Regions from separate parts of the Homo sapiens genome. Here regions 1 and 3 are each linked to region 2. The links are contacts of gene promoters, found by promoter capture Hi-C in blood cells and fetal thymus (Javierre and others, 2016). All regions are on one chromosome and are shown on one strand. Each heading gives the region's core, a stretch centred on a gene start or on the middle of the fragment in contact. The rest is flanking DNA. Distances are from core to core; before and after follow the strand shown.

Evidence for each region. The method cuts DNA at HindIII sites, captures the fragments that hold promoters and counts their contacts. A CHiCAGO score of 5 or more calls a contact.
Region 1: the fragment with the promoter of PUF60 here is called in contact with a fragment that was not itself captured in region 2 in 5 of 17 cell types (monocytes, M0 macrophages, non-activated CD4 T cells and 2 more); the score reaches 11.6 in monocytes.
Region 3: the fragment with the promoter of PARP10 here is called in contact with a fragment that was not itself captured in region 2 in 1 of 17 cell types (monocytes); the score reaches 8.6 in monocytes.

What each region holds. Positions count from the first base shown.
Region 1 is chr8:143,827,163-143,830,769 of GRCh38, reverse strand. PUF60 (poly(U) binding splicing factor 60) reads left to right here and starts at 1,455. Exons shown (of 12, transcript NM_078480.3): 1 at 1,455-1,490. The coding sequence starts at 1,467. It overlaps LOC107986985 (a long non-coding RNA gene), which reads right to left and starts at 1,490. Exons shown (of 3, transcript XR_001746138.2): 1 at 1,366-1,490; 2 at 732-924; 3 at 1-61. It also overlaps a transcript of NRBP2 not described here. RefSeq lists enhancers at 164-1,363, 684-1,383 and a silencer at 1,168-1,737. The HindIII fragment of the contact is 7,973 bases long and covers 1-3,607 here.
Region 2 is chr8:144,291,846-144,295,024 of GRCh38, reverse strand. HSF1 (heat shock transcription factor 1) reads right to left here. Exons shown (of 13, transcript NM_005526.4): 1 at 3,151-3,179. Among named protein-coding and RNA genes, the nearest start is that of HSF1, 1.8 kb to the right of the region's middle. RefSeq lists enhancers at 2,624-2,683, 2,286-2,942 and a silencer at 3,074-3,179. The HindIII fragment of the contact is 1,460 bases long and covers 1,193-2,652 here.
Region 3 is chr8:143,985,181-143,988,557 of GRCh38, reverse strand. It overlaps PARP10 (poly(ADP-ribose) polymerase family member 10), which reads left to right and starts at 2,098. Exons shown (of 11, transcript NM_032789.5): 1 at 2,098-2,200; 2 at 2,325-2,503; 3 at 2,583-2,837; 4 at 2,910-3,146; 5 at 3,230-3,377. The coding sequence starts at 2,199. RefSeq lists enhancers at 1,422-2,325, 1,996-2,435. The HindIII fragment of the contact is 24,851 bases long and covers 1-3,377 here.

The DNA of each region.
Region 1 (3,607 bases), core at 206-2,705, 460 kb after region 2:
TCTGTTTCTTCTGAGTCCCTTTTCTTCTTTCTCAGGTGTCTGGTGATCCTGGGCTGTCCAGCTGCATTGAAGAGTGAGATGCTTTTAGTGGCTGGGGCTTATGACCTGGTGAGCTTCGAGGCCAGGGATCTGGCTGGGCCATTCTACTGGGCAACACTCTACCCCTAGGTGCCCTGCCAGTCTTTTCTTTTGAGCTAGGAGCTGCTGCAGAGAGGAGCCCTCTTCTCTGAGAAGCCTGATGGCATGCGGGTGGTCAGACCCAGCCCAGGGGTGGAGGCAGGGGTAGGACCCAGAGTCTCACTTACTCCCAGGCTTTCAGACAGGGCCTTGCTTGAGCAGGGCCTCAGAGCTCCTCTCCTGGAGCTCACGTCTCAGACACTGCAGTGCCTGCCAGCCCCGGTGGGTAGGGACAGAGGTCTGGGGTTTCCTTTCTGTAGCTGTGCTTTCACCCACGACCCTCAGACACTGGCCTCCATAGCCAAGTGGGCTGGAGTAGCTCTCGCTGTCCACCTTTCTTAAGCTCTGCAATATCCCAGCTCTTTGCCCTTGCAGGGTTTGTCTTTATAAAACCCCTTTCCTATAATTTTGGAAGGTTTCAGGAGGGAGGCGGGGAATATTCTGCCCTATTTAAGTAGAAGTGTCTGTATTAAATTCTAAATGTTCCCAGGGTTGAAAGGAGGCCTGCCCGGGATGCCTTGTGGCCTTAGGCAGCTGAAGGTGCCTGAGCTTACAGATGTGGCTTCTTCGGATGACCGAGTTGGGGTCTCGGGACTGGGTGCAGCAGATGGCAAATGTCCAGGACAGGCAGCTTTCCCAGCAGTACTGACAGACACCTTGGGCCATGAAAGCCAGTTCAGGGACTAACGGGGCCTGCGGGCTGCGGGTCTAGCGACTGATGTCAGCCAACCTAGGGTCATCGGTTCCCTGGAAGGAGAAAAAGCTGCCAATTGAACGGGGCCTCCCGGTCCCAGGGATGTCGCGACGCGGGGACGACGCATCTCACGACGTCAGCCTGAAACACGCGGGCCTTTCATCACCCGAGACTCCTCCAGCCCAGGAGGGCCCCGCTCTTTCGCCTGCCTCCTGGGGGAGAGCCTCTGGACGACGCACGCGACAGCGTTTTCTCCAAAAAAGGCAGAGAAGAGAAGCGTAGCAGTGGCCGCAAGGGCGACGGGCGGCGAAGGGTACTACGCACGCCCGCGTCGGCCACGCGGAGAGATACGCCCGACTCGAGTCCCGCGGCGCACGCCCCTAGACGCCCGAGGTGCGCGGGCCACGCCCCTCGCCCGGCCAAGAGCACGCCCCTTCCGTCGCCCCTCCCGGGGGCGTTTACCGTTCCTCCCCGCCCCGGAAGCGCGTTCTTACCTCCTTCCTCGCGAGAGTTCCGTGCACCGGCACCCAGATCGCGCGAGACAGCGGAAGGAGCAAGAGTGGGAGGCGCGCGCGGAGGCCGCGACGGACGCAAGATGGCGACGGCGACCATAGCTCTCGTAAGTGAGCCCCCCCATGAGCGCGGGCGGCCCTCGGCTTGCGGGGCCGGGTCGTCGACCCAGCCTGGGCGCGGAGGGCCTCCCAAGAACGCGGCGGTCTTCCCAGGTCCCGCGCGGACTCCCTCGTGTCCCCGGGTCGCGTGAGGCGGGGGCGGGGCGGGCGCGCGCCGGCGGCCGGCTCGCGGCCTCAGCTTCCGGCCTGCGGACCCCAGCTTCCGGCGGGGCGGGGCGGGGGCCTGGGCGCGGCGTGTGGCCCTTGCGGGCGAGCCTGGCGGGGTTGCGTTCCTGTCCGCTAGGTCCGGCAAGCGGGGGTCGTCGTCCTCCCTTTGCCGACGGGGGTGTGCGCCGTGGTCACGACGGAAGCGGGGTTCTGGGGGTGACGCGTGGGCCTTCGGGTTGATGGGATCAGAAGGGGACGGGACCTGTAGAAAGGGGCCTGCAGCTCAGAGCATGGGGCGGCCTTGGCTCACTACGCCTGCAGCTGTGAATTCGTTCTCCGGTGCTGGAGAGGGATCTGGTTATCTCCATTCTCTTGTCTCCACGTGGAAAGGAAGGACGTGCGCTCTCATCCTACGTGTTTTGAGAAATCGCATTGTCCCCAGCTCTGCGGGAGGATCTGGGGACGCAGTGGGGAACCAGACAGGCAGTTGGAGGTCTAGTGCGCACCAGAAGCCAGTTCCCACCCAGGGTGCCATTTGCTGGGCGCCCTAGGGAGCTGCGTGGGCATCCAGAGGAGTGAGTCGCCCCCTGCTCTGCTCAGTGCCCACTTCCCCGGGCAGGGCAGGCGTTATTAACGTAGAGGGAGAACACCCATGCACACAACACATGCACGATGAAGTCTGGTCTTTCCTTCTCACCACTTAGCTTATAGGACCTAATCCCCTTTTGGACCTTTCTCAGCCGCAGTTTACCCCTGTATTACTTGTCACCCTTCCCCCAGCCCACACCCAGCGGGATGGGATAAGGTCTGTTTGAGAAGACAGCTTGGGCAAATGGCTGAAGGCTGGACTGGCAGGACCAGGGAGTGTCCTTAGACTGCCATTGCCAGGCCCCCAGCGGGCGGGCTGGTCCCATGTCCCACTGAGGCAGAAACCAGTTACTAGGGGGAGAGAGGCATTTACACAAGATACCCAGCTTGCGAGGGCAGCCCAGTGTGTGATTCACAGGACTGGCTAACTCCACTCTTTCTACTATGTCCTTTCTCTTGAAGCCACAGGAGTAAGTGACCTTTGAGGGGCACTCCAGAGAGAAAGGATGTAAGGGTTGAGGACCTGGTGACTGTCTTCAGGCAGCAGTCAGAGAGTTGATGGTGAAGGAGGAGGAGGCTCAGAGACAAGGACTGGACATGGGAAGGTGGAGGAGGAGAGTGGATGCCTGACTCCCCTAGCACCCGCAGAACAGCGCCCTGTGCTCATGAGGGTTAAATGGGGGCTCAGGTCTGCTGTGGCGTGGTGCCAGATAGGTGGTGTCATTGTTGAGTTGGACGTGGGCCATAACTGACCCCACGAACGGGTTGTCTGTTGGGGTGTTTGTTGCCATCCAAATTCTGTTGGGTTTAATACGTGTTTTTTTATCGTCAGGTTTCAGGCTTGCATCCGGCTCCAGGAGTGAGCTGTAGCCTGTGGTCTAACCCATTCCTCTTTTAATCATTGGGATGGAAAGGCTTCTAGAAGGGTTATCTGTTCCCACCGTCCTGGTTGGGCACAGTGATGAGAGCCTGTCCCCTGTCTCATGCTGCTTCAGCTCTCATGGGAGGTTGAATGGAGCAGCTGAACTTGGCTGACAGTGGCCTGGTGGGGAAGGAAGCCAGAAGATGCAGAAGGGCCTCCCCTCCCATGGGCATGCCTTCTGCCTGGTGGCTGCAGAATGAGGCCGGCTGCCTCTTTGCAGCAAGGGTAGGTCTTCTGGATGCATCTTTTCACTTTGACGCATGGCTCCGTTCTCTTCACTGACAGCCAGACCAGCTCTCATTTGGGGTCATCACCCTTGGGGTTCCAGTTCCTTTCTTCTGTAGGCCCCAGCCTGCAATGTCACCTCATAGAGAGGCCCCCGGCTGCCATGGCCTGGCATAGCTCATAGCCACTCCTTTCTTATCCTGTGCTTTCTTCGTAGTGCTG
Region 2 (3,179 bases), core at 673-3,172:
ATTCAGTCCCCCAACCCCGTCTTTGGGTCTCAGTGGTACTGGATCCAGGTGTACCTTTGGGAGAAGCTGTTGAGAAGCTGGCTGAGGGAGGACCACCCACGTGCACGCCCATGCTCTTATGTGGATCCCCGGGATCATAACCTTGTGGCTGACACATTTCCTCTCCAAGGCTGTGCTGTCCTCCACGACTTGCTGGGTCCCCTCAAGGCCCTTGCCTGTGTGGGTGGGGTGCTCATGGGAATGAGGGTCTTGGGAGGGGGGGGTGGGAAATCAAACAACACAGGGATGGGGTAGCTGCCACAGTCCCCACCAATGGGGTCTCCTGGGCAGTGACCCGGCATTCTGCCTCCAGTGGCTGCAGTGGGAGTCCTGATCTCAGGCCAGGGAGGGGACGTGCAATGGTGGTCCAGACCTGGTCCCATTCCTGGCCAGGCTCAGTAAAGTTACTGGCCAGTTTCTGGGCCTCGGTCTCCCCCAGGTTATTCAGCCTTGAGAGTTAGTCACCATGCCTGTGATTCTGCCTCATCTTCTTGTGTCAAATAGGGAGGGTTTTTCTTGGCAGAATGGTGGTAAGACTCTGAGCCAGAAGGAGACTCTCCCAGAGAAGGCAGCAGAGAGCAAGAGCACCAGGGCCTTCTCAAGGCCTCCGAGAGCCAGCTGGGCCTGGGCAGTAGATTTGTGGGAGGGTGCCCTGTTGGGACTCTGCTGACAGGGAGTCCTCAGGGCTTGTGTGAGTGCTCTCAAAGTCACAGGATGGGATGATCACCTCCTTTCTCCAGGCCAGGCAGCCAGCGCCGGAAAGCTCTGCAGCCCCCTGCGCGGCCTGGAGAAGGGCTTCCTTCCAGTTTTAAGTCAGTGTTTCTGTCTCATTGCCATGCTCGCCCCCAGTGCTACGTCCTGCACCAACCATTGCCACTTCATACTGACCAGGTGGAACCAAACACTCACATTCCAGTTGGCTCCCCATCCCTCCCCAGGGAGAACAGATCCACAGGTGGTGCACCTGTGAGTGGAGTGGAGGCTGGCCACGGGCCTCATCACACCTGCCTTCCTTGCTCAAAAGCCCTGCCCAGAACATGCCTCGGTCCCAAAAAAGGGTACACTGGGCCCTAACCCACATGCCTCATAATCTTTAAGCAGAAACAGCAAGCAGATTACGGGACAGGACAGATCACGCTAGTAGGATTAAGCTTAGAATATCCCAGATAATCGCGGATGCCCCTCCCCCAATGGGGGAGTTATTCCCCTTAACTTCTGAGGATTAAGGGGAATAAGAAAAAGAAGAAGGGCTGGGTGCAGTGGCTCACACCAGTAATCCCAGCACTTTGGGAGGCCAAGGCGGGTGGATAACTTGAGGTCAGGAGTTCCAGACCAGCCTGTCCAATGTGGTGAAACCCCGTCTCTACTAAAAATACAACAATCAGCCGGGTGTGGCAGCACGCACCTGTAGTCCTGGCTACTCGGGAGGCTGAGGCAGAATTGCTTGAACCCGGGAGGTGGAGGTCGCAGTGAGCCGAGATCGCACCACTGCACTCCAACCTGGGTGACAGAGCAAGACTCGGTCTAAAAAAAAAAAAAAGAAAAAAGAAAAAGACGGATAAAAGAAGACAGAAACATGGGAGTATTTCCTTTGCACAAGAATCCAAGGTCTAGAATGAAGAGATGGTGAAATGAAGCCAGCCTCCAGGAAGGTGCACTGTGCCTTAATGGGACCTGGGGATGGGAAGGCCAACACAGAGGTGTCAGCGGGACAAACACAAAGTGTTTCTAACAAGAGCAAAGATTTCCAGTCTTCTCTTTATTTCCAAACACTCTGTAGGTAAAGCAGAGCCTCAGTAAACCCAAGAAGCAGAAAACCTGGCCTCCTGCCTGGGGCAGCTTCAGTTTAGACTTTTCTTCATTCCTAACAGCATAAAGAGGCTGTGCAAATGGGAGGCACTCAGCAGAGCCTGAAGAACTCTGGGGTCTTAGCTCCTGGGAGGCCACACATGCTTGGTGGCACCCTGCCGGTCACGGTGCCTCCAAAAGCTCCCAATGATCAGTGGCCTTTCTTTTTTTTCTTTTTTTTCTTAGACAGGGTCTCACTCTTTGCCAGGCTGCAGTGGCGGGATCTTGGTTCAGTGCAACCTCTGCCTCCCAGGTCCAGGGAGTCCTCCTATCTCAGCCTCCCAAGTAGCTAAGACCACAGGCAAGCACCACCACGCCCGGCAAATTTTTTGTATTTTTAGTAGAGCTGGGGTTTTGCCATATTGTCCGGGCTGGTCTCGAACTCCTGGCCTCAAGTGATCCACCCGCCTCCGCCTCCCAAAGTGCTGGGATTACAAGCAAGAGTCACCCCACTCGGCCAGTGTGGCCCTTCTTCAGGTCATCACTTGCCAGCCGCAGGCGGTGGCTCTGCCCCTCACCGGACACGACGTCACAGCCGGGATGTGAACAGCAGATTCTGATCTCCAACTCCAGACAATCACTGATTTACTTCTGCAAACCGGAGCTGTCCGGTCTTGCAGGGTCGGACCATGTAAACAAGCCTGCTGCCAGGCAACTGAAGACAGAAACACGAATAAAGATGCCCCATAAGGAATGAAAAACAAAACTCCTCTTGGGAAACCCAGATTTGGGATTCGGAAACGGGCTTGAGATCAACCTGAAGCTTCATGACGTCTTACTGTTTCCACTGCCTTTCCTGTTCCACTACAGCAACGCCCTCCACTTCACGTGCCAAGTCCTGACTTTCTCCTAATAGTTGCCGACCCAGCACCCCGTAGGCTGTCCCCTGGGGACGCCGATGTCCTCTGGGGCATAGCGTCCGCTGGCGAAGCCGGGTGCTTGCCCTAAGCGCGGACACTTCCGCAACCGCCCAACAGTTAGCAGAAGCCCAATACAAGAGACGCCCCATTCTCCCCATCCCAGGGAAACTTCGCTGGGGCAGGGGTTGAACCGAGTGTGGGTCTCGTAGCCGCTTTCCCAACTTAAGGCTCTGGGTCTGAGCAGGCTCGGGACCCGCCGCCCTTCTCTGGCGGGGGCAGGGCAGGCTCACCGCGCGTAAGCTGAAGTGCGGCAGGGCCCCTCCCCGCAGCCCTCCCGCGCCGTCCGCCGCGGCCCTGCTCCCTCCCGGTCCCCACGGGCCCCGCGCCCGCGCGCTGCCCTCACCGGGCTCCAGCAGATGAGCGCGTCGGTGT
Region 3 (3,377 bases), core at 849-3,348, 310 kb after region 2:
GGAGGCAGAGGTTACAGTGAGCTGAGATCGTGCCACCGCACTCCAGCCTGCGTAACAGAGTGTGACTCTGTCTCAAAAAATAAATAAATAAGTAAATAAAAATAAAATAGCTGGGTATGGTGGCTGGCACCAGTAATCCCAGCACTTTGGGAGGCTGAGGCAGGTGGATCATCTGAGGTCAGGAGTTTGAGACCAGTCTGCCCAATAGGGTGAAACCCTGTCTCTGCTAAAAATACAAAAATTAGCTGGGCATGGTGGTGCGTGCCTGTAATCCCAGCTACTTGGGAGGCTTAGGCAGGAGAATCCCTTGAACCCAGTGGGTGGACGTTGCAGTGAGCCGAGATCACGGCACTTCACTCCAGCCTGGGTGAAAGGGCGAAACTCCGTCTCAGAAAAAAAAAAAAAAAAGGCAGAGTAAGGGAGATCATGCCAGAGGGGTGGCCATGGGGGTTTGTGGGGAAGGTAGGGCCAAGCAGAGGGAAGGGCCAGTCCCAGGCTACTGAGGCAGGAGTGGCCTGTAGCTCTGCAGGAAGAGCTGAGAGCCTGGAGCCCTCTGAGCATCAGGGTGTGCAGGGGGCATGGGGCCAGAGAAGGGACTGAGGTCTGGTCAGGTGCAGCTGGGCAGGGGGCAGGTCCTCAAAAGGACTTTGGGTTTTTGTTTTTTTTTTAGACAGAGTCTCACTCTATCACCTTGGTTGGAGTGCAGTGGCACGATCTCAGCTCACTGCAACCTCCACCTCCCAGGTTCAAGCTATTCTCCTGACTCAGCCTCCTGAGTAGCTGAGATTATAGGCACCTGCCACCATGCCCGGCTAATTTTTATATTTTTAGTAGAGACAGGGTTTTACCATGTTGGCCAGGCTGATCTCAAACTCCTGACCTCGTGATCCACCTGCCTCAGTCTCCCAAAGTGCTGGGATTACAGGCATGAGCCACTGCGCCCGGCCCCCAGGACTTTGGTTTCTACTGTTGCTGATGCTGGGAGCTGTAGCAGCTGCTGGTGTCATTTTACAAGGCTCACCCTGACACCTCTGTTGAGGACCCACCATGGGAGTGGCAGACAGAGACTAGTTAAGAGGTTAGCCTAGCTACCTAGCGAGAGATGCTGGAGGCTGGGACCAGGGTCGGGGCAGCAGAGGTGTGGCATGTGCAGGGCTAGGAGTGCAGGCTGGCCAGGGTCCTCAGCTCCCTGGAGGGAGGAACAGCAGGGGTGGGGCTGGGTTTTGGTGGGCTGAGGGGTGAGTGGGAAGTAGGAGATGGAGAGTGGTAGTGGCCACAGCTCTTTGAAAGGCTGGAAGCAAACGGAGCTTGGGTGATGTGGGAGATCTGTGGCGAGTGGGAGTGTGGACTCTGAAGGCACCGCCCAGGTTTGAGGCCTGGTGCTGCTATGGGCCTGTCTGCACCTCCGTTTCCCTTTCTGTGGTGAGGATTAGCGGCAGCAAGGAATGCAGTGGAGCCATTACCTTGTCACCTTCTGAGGTTACTTGTGACGATGCCAATGATGGTGTGAGATGGGGAGGTGCAGGCAGGACAGAAAGCTGCAGGAATGGGCAGGCAAGACCTGAGGCGGGAGGAAGGCTGTGCTGCAATGCACATTCTTGGAGACCAAGGGTGGGGAACCGCCCATGCTCAGCACCTGGCAGGTGTGAGGGACCAGGAGCAGGGTTGAGAAGGTTGCTGGGGGCGTTGAAGGCCAGCCTTGGCCGGGGGCGGGCCTGGAGACCCAGCACTTTGTGTGCAGAGGGTGTCATGGACACAGAGGCTTGGAGATCCTGAGTGAGGGGCAGTGACTCAGGCCCCTTGGTGGGTTTAGTGGGGCGGGTGATTGGCCATTTTCAGGCCATGGAGGCCAGGGGAGTGGAGGGCCACCAGGGGACACTCCTGTCTACCCTGCCAACCAGGGGCTGGAGTGGGCCAGGTAGGGCCGGTGGGCTGGGCTGGGTTGGCTGGAGGGTCCTGAGGGGTCCAGCCTGGCCAATACCTCCTGGTCAGCTGGGGGTTGAGGCTGCAGCAGGAGAGGAAGCATCTGAGCCCCAGTACCCAGGCCTCAGCGCCCAGGGCCCAGCTGCTCCCTCCCTCCTTCCGTCTTTCAGTTTCACTTTTGTTTTCCTGCTCCCAGCAGGGTTAGGCTTGCTGAGGGGCAGGCACAGGAGTCCTGGCTGAGCTCATGGCCTGAGGCTGCCTAGCGGCCACGGGGAATGTAAGTGCTGTATGTGGGGCCACCCATAATGGGGGAGCATTGAGGACACACCTTGGAGGGGCCTGGGGAGGGGCAGGAGGGGTGGAATGGGCTGTTTCCCTACCCACCTGATGCCCCGTCCCAGGGTTGCAATGGCGGAGGCAGAGGCAGGGGTGGCAGTGGAGGTCCGTGGACTGCCCCCTGCCGTGCCCGACGAGCTGCTCACTCTCTACTTTGAAAACCGCCGACGCTCTGGAGGGGGACCTGTGTTGAGCTGGCAGAGACTGGGCTGTGGGGGCGTCCTCACCTTCAGAGAGCCTGCAGGTGAGAGGGCTGGCTGAAGGGACAGCCTGGGTGCCCTGATATTCTAATGCCTGACATCCTGCCCCGCCCCTGCCCACAGACGCCGAGAGGGTCTTGGCCCAGGCAGATCACGAACTACATGGTGCCCAGCTGAGCCTGCGGCCAGCTCCACCACGAGCCCCTGCACGCCTGCTGCTCCAAGGACTGCCCCCTGGCACCACGCCCCAGCGCTTGGAGCAGCATGTCCAGGCCTTGCTGCGGGCCTCGGGGCTCCCAGTACAGCCTTGCTGTGCCTTGGCCAGCCCCCGGCCAGACCGGGCTCTGGTCCAGTTGCCCAAGCCCCTTTCTGAGGCAGGTGAGAGGCAGGGTTGGGGTTGAGGTGCTGGCTAGGGGGGATTCCCTGAGCTGACCTGCACATACCCCACAGATGTCCGTGTCCTGGAGGAGCAGGCCCAGAATCTGGGCCTGGAGGGGACCTTGGTGTCCCTGGCCCGGGTTCCCCAGGCCCGAGCGGTGCGTGTGGTGGGGGATGGTGCCTCTGTGGACCTGCTGTTGCTGGAGTTGTACCTGGAGAATGAGCGCCGCAGTGGTGGGGGGCCCCTGGAGGACCTGCAACGCCTACCCGGGCCCCTGGGCACTGTTGCCTCCTTCCAGCAGTGGCAAGGTGAGTGGGGCTGGGCAGACCCAGCCGACCGTCCCTCTCCTGCAGAAATCTGACAGGCTTTCTGTCCTTTCCCTTCCTCCAAGTGGCAGAACGAGTGTTGCAGCAGGAGCACCGGTTGCAGGGCTCAGAGCTGAGCCTTGTCCCCCACTACGACATCCTGGAGCCCGAGGAGCTGGCTGAGAACACCAGTGGAGGGGACCACCCGTCCACCCAGGGGCCTAGGGCTACCAA